Linked DNA regions of Homo sapiens: region 1 is linked to region 2. The links are contacts of gene promoters, found by promoter capture Hi-C in blood cells and fetal thymus (Javierre and others, 2016). All regions are on one chromosome and are shown on one strand. Each heading gives the region's core, a stretch centred on a gene start or on the middle of the fragment in contact. The rest is flanking DNA. Distances are from core to core; before and after follow the strand shown. Region 1 holds the start of ABCB10 (ATP binding cassette subfamily B member 10). Region 2 overlaps COG2 (component of oligomeric golgi complex 2).

The links. Contacts are between HindIII fragments. The CHiCAGO score rates a contact against its expected background, and 5 or more counts as called.
Region 1: the fragment with the promoter of ABCB10 here is called in contact with a fragment that was not itself captured in region 2 in 1 of 17 cell types (total B cells); the score reaches 5.6 in total B cells.

What each region holds. Positions count from the first base shown.
Region 1 is chr1:229,557,434-229,560,133 of GRCh38, reverse strand. ABCB10 (ATP binding cassette subfamily B member 10) reads left to right here and starts at 1,427. Exons shown (of 13, transcript NM_012089.3): 1 at 1,427-1,998. The coding sequence starts at 1,482. RefSeq lists an enhancer at 648-837 and silencers at 1,008-1,707, 1,768-2,217. The HindIII fragment of the contact is 4,467 bases long and covers 1-2,700 here.
Region 2 is chr1:230,644,392-230,647,091 of GRCh38, reverse strand. All of the region lies in intron 1 of COG2 (component of oligomeric golgi complex 2), which reads right to left. Among named protein-coding and RNA genes, the nearest start is that of COG2, 3.3 kb to the right of the region's middle. The HindIII fragment of the contact is 5,232 bases long and covers 1-2,700 here.

The DNA.
Region 1 (2,700 bases), core at 178-2,677, 1.1 Mb after region 2:
TTTTTGTAAATAAAGTTTCCAGGGCTGGGATTAGAGCGAGAGAAGAGAGGCAGGATTGTGAAAGGTCAGGAGTGGATACTCAATCAAAATTTTTTATATTTTGTTCATTACGGATTTTTTAAATTAATTTTGATTTTTAAAAATATTGCACTAAAATGTTTATGTTGATTATTGAGGTTTTTTTATTTTGTGAACCCATAAAATTTGCAACTGACAGTACCCTGTCCAGGTCCAGTAAAAATACCTAGGAGTCTACAAAAATCTACCCACGACTCACTGGACCTCAGGTACATATCCCCCCCCGCCCCCATGAAGTCTCCATAAAGTGTCCCAGTGAGTTTTAATGTTCTCTCCTGTCTTTCCATGCACGTGTATTAAGATGCATTGCCTTCTGATTAGTGTTTTCCACTTCGAACAGCGGGAATGCCTCGACCACGCCTGTCTTCAAATTTCTGCTCTAGTTAAGAAACGATCTCAGGCCGGGCACGGTGGCTCACGCCTGCAATCCCAGCACTTTGGGAGGCTGACGCGGGCGGATCACCTGAGGTCAGGAGTTCGAAAAGAGCCTGACCAACATGGTAAAACCCCGTCTCTACTAAAAATACAAAATCAGCCGGGTGTGGTGGCGTATGCCTGTAATCCCAGCTACTTGGGAGGCTGAGAAGGGAGAATCACTTGAACCTGGGAGGCAGAGGTTGCAGTGAGCCGAGATCGTCTCAAGAAAAAAAAAAAAAAGAAAAAAAAGAAACGATCTCTTCCCTTCTCAAAGTTATATACATTTCACTATTCGCCAACCACCTCCTCCACGCCGTCCAGAGCTGAGCTGACACGCAGCGAAGTCCTCTCAGTGGTCCCTCCGCACCTCAGCCCTGTGCTTGGCAGCGAGACGAGTGACAGGGCCGCCCCAGCATGGGTCTCCCGGGCCGCGGACCCGCCCCACGCCGTATCCAGCACGCTGTCCTCCCGCCCCATCTTTGTGCCGGCCATCGTGTGGTCGCGTCTGCGCGCTCCGCCCGGTCTGCCGGCGTGAGAAAGAGCTCGTGTCGTTCCCAAGTTCAGACCAGAGGGGACGGCGAAGCGCGAAAAAGTTCCCTGCGCCCAGTACGCAGGCGCAGCCGTGCTCCTGGGCTTCCCGGGCCTCGTCCCAGCTGGCGCGCCCGGCGCTCCTCCGCCAGCGGGCAGTTGGGGGCGCTGCAGGGAGGGCACCCGAGCGGGTTGGGGGCGCTCGGAAGGGTGGCTTGCAAGGTCCGGGTAGCTGCAGTCCCCGGAGTGGGGCGGAGAGGCGCGGCACCGCGCGGACGAGGATGGGGCGGGGGCGGGCGCAGCCCGAGGGTGCAGGCACGATAAGGCGGGTGACAGCCAGCGGGGAGGGGCGGGCGCCACCGCGTCCACGCCCTTTGCTCGGGGCCGGGCCGGGAGGGTCCTCGGGCTTTGCGCGCGCCTGGCCGGCGGGCTGAGGCGTACGGGTCGCACGCAGCGCCATGCGAGGCCCCCCTGCCTGGCCGCTGCGGCTGCTCGAGCCACCGAGCCCTGCCGAGCCAGGTCGGCTCCTGCCGGTAGCCTGCGTGTGGGCCGCGGCCAGCCGCGTTCCCGGGTCCCTATCGCCGTTCACTGGCCTGAGGCCGGCGCGGCTATGGGGCGCGGGGCCCGCGCTGCTCTGGGGCGTTGGAGCCGCGCGCCGCTGGAGGAGCGGCTGCCGGGGCGGGGGTCCGGGCGCCTCGCGGGGCGTCCTGGGCCTCGCGCGGCTCCTGGGGCTGTGGGCTCGCGGCCCCGGCAGCTGCAGGTGCGGGGCTTTTGCCGGGCCAGGCGCTCCTCGGCTCCCGCGCGCCCGGTTCCCGGGCGGTCCCGCAGCCGCTGCCTGGGCAGGGGACGAGGCCTGGCGGCGCGGGCCGGCGGCGCCTCCCGGGGACAAGGGGCGGCTGCGCCCCGCAGCGGCCGGACTCCCGGAGGCCCGGAAGCTCCTGGGGCTGGCGTACCCTGAGCGCCGGAGGCTGGCAGGTAGGGTCCTCCCCGGCCACTTCCCTCCGCCGGGCCTCTCCTTCTCCACACGCGGGGTCCCGGGGCGCCGAGAGGGACACGGCCGGGCCGCAGAGCGCGTGTCACCGCCGCCTCTCCTGGGCCACTCCTAACCCCGGAGGAGGGAGGGGATCGCTCACCTCAGAGTAGCGTTGTCAAGATTTCGCCTTAGCTGGGGACTCGTTTGCAGATTTTACACTTGTTTTCTTGTTGACACACGTTATATATGTCATTATTGGAATCTTTGGGTCTGTTCCACCACCAACTTAGTGGGAGCATCTGTTTTGGCTTAGGCAGCAAAATGAGCTGGAGGTTTTTCCTTGGAAAAAAAAATTCTAGCCAAAAATATGCCTATTTTGTTATTAGGCGTTTATACTTTTTTTTTTTAACCAAAAACACATTATTTGCTTCAAGCGAGTCTGTCAAGCAGTCACCAATGCTTTCACAGCGGAAAGCAAAACTTTCAGACTTGTCTCTTGTGCAGGAAGTTACAGCACTGTGTTCAACAGGCCACACCAGTGATCTGTTCAGTAATTGAGTAACTTTTTTAAAAGAAGCCAAAATGAATGTTTTTAGAAACAAAATTTAAATAGGACAGTTTTCTATAGCTCCTCATTTTTTAGCCATAATTGGAGGAGTGTTTAGATGCAAGGGCCTTGTAAGATCTAAAATTTTTTCGATTTC
Region 2 (2,700 bases), core at 65-2,564:
GCACCTGTTACATACAAGCACCGAGATGCGTTTTGAAAAGGGCACCCTGCCTGTGATGTAGAACACGGACTAGAAAAAGGCAAGAATGGATGCCAGGGGACTACAGTAAGAAGCCACTAGATTATAATGGCCAGAGATAATGATGAGTCAGAAAGTGGGAAAAGAGGAGATGGAGAGAAGTAGACAAATTTCAGAGATATTTGGGAAGTGAAATCCTAAGGCTTAGTAACAGGTTGGATTTCAAGAATGTGAAGGAGAGAGGTGTTATCAAGGATGACTCCTTGATAACATCTGACTCACAACCAGATGGATGGATTACCTCAGGTCTAGTATTACCTGAGATAGGTAATACCAGAAGAGAGCCAAGTTTGAGAGAAGGTTGGTTTTTTTCATCTTCCCCCAACAAATTCAGTTTTAAATATGCCGAGTTTGAGGTGCCACAGAGATAGCCAAGAAGAGATGTCAAGGCGCTGTGCACATGGGGTTGCAGATAAGAAGGTATTTGGGCCAGAAGTATGAACCTTTCACCTGTCTACACGTGGTCATTGAAGCTGCATGAAGTGGGTCACCTGCGGAAAGTGCACAGCATGTGAAAAGGAACAGACACGTGGCTGAGTCCATAACCCACCAATTAATGGCTAGGAGGAGAATGATTATGCAAAAGAGACAAGGAGACCAGAGAGGCCAAAAGATAACCAGAAAGCACCAGGTTTCAGAAAGCAAATGAAGGGAGCATTTGATCTACTGAGGTCAGGGAAGGAAGCAGAGAAGGTCTGGTGGATCGACTTCCATCTAGTTAACTTTGGTGAGAAGTCTTTAGTGGAATGATGGGGCCAGAAACCAGAGTGAAGTGAATTTAAGAGTGAAGGGAGAGAAAGTAAAGACAACATTTGGCTGTGAGCATTTGGCTGTGAGATGGAAGAGAGCGATGGGCTTTAACTGGAGGTTGGAGGGTCCAGTAGAAGAAACTAAAATAGGAGTGTGTCTGAAAGCCAATGGGAAGAAGTGTGGAGAGGGTGGGAATAACAGGGTCCTGAGAAGGGAGAGGGCACCGGATCCAGGCATGGGAGGCAGACCTCAGGAGGAAGGAAAGACCCCTACACCAGCGTCCCCAACTACCTGTGGGGAACCGGGTGGCCCAGCAGGAGGAGCGCAGCCTGTATTCACAGCCACTCTGTATTGGAGCTCCGCCTCCTGTCAGATCAGTGGCAGCACTAGATTCTCATAGGAGCATGGACCCTACTGTGAACTGCACATGCGAGGGATCTAGGTTAGGCACTCCTTATGAAAACCTAATGCTGAATGATCTGTCAGTGTCTCCCATCACCCCCCAGACAGGACTGTCTAGTTGCAAGAAAACAAGGTCAGAGCTCCCACTGATTCTACATTACGGTGAATTTTATAACTATTTCATTATGTATTACAATGTAATAATTATAGAAATAAAGTGTACAATAAATGTAATGCGCTTGAATCACCCCAAAACCATCCCCTGCACTCCTGGTCCATGGAAAAATTGTCTTCCAAAAGTGTCAAAAAGGTTGGGGACCATTGCCCTACACAACAGGTTAATGATGGGAGTGAGAACAGGTACAAATGCAAGAACGAGGTTGCTGTCAGCAAGATGAAGGAGCTACCGCTTGATGGCCTCTATTTTTTCTGTAAAACACATGAAGTCATACGTGAGACAGAAGGATATGATTGCCACAGCATACCTAGGTTAAGTGGGTTTAAGTTATCCCTGTTAGCCTACCACCTCTCTCCTACTACCAGTATCTTACATCCTAATTCATCTACTGATTGTCAACCCTCTCTAAGAGTGTTTGTACATTTTCTTTTTTTTTTTTTTTTTTTTTTTGACAGGGTCTCTTTCTGTTGCCCAGGCTGAAGTGCAGTGCTGCAATCCTGGCTCACTGCAGCCTTGACCTCCACAGGCTCAGGTAATCCTCCCACCTCAGCCTCCCAAGTAGCTGGGACTACAGGTATGTGCCACCACACCTGGCTAATTTTTCAATATTTTGTAGAAATGCATTCTCACTATGTTGCTCAGTGTGTATATTTTATTAAGCTGACGAAGTCAACAGTATCATGCCATTACCACCTTTGACCCCTCAAGTGATTCGTTCATCTGCCACTCCTGCTTTTTGATCATTTACGTAATATTTTCCACAAACTATCCCCTCCTGTATTTCTCAGATCTCATAAAAACCACTGAAATAACTTTTTAAGTAGCCTCCCGCCACCAGTCAGTTCCAACTGCAACATACATGATCATGTCATTTCCTGCTTTTAACCTGACTGTAACTCCACAATGAATACTAAATCAAGTGCAAATCCGTCAGTACAGTATACAAGGCCCATTGAAACCTGCACACAGCAGGTGATCATGGAATGCCCACTGACTGAACAATTGCTACCACTGCACTAGCATGCCCTCATGATCTATGGCAACCTAAACACAGTTTCCCATCAACACCAGAAGAGACGTAATACCAGAAGAGAGGTAATAACAGAAGAGAGTGGATTTCAAGCAACTTTAAATCTGGATTTTCAAGCAATCTCAAATCTCCCAATGCAAATGTCATATCCCAACTTTCTCACACGTACAAAACCTATCCAATTACAAAATGTGCTGAATGAGACACAAACATAGAAATATAGCCTGGACAAGTGTTCCAACCATCCTTTCTGCCATGGAAG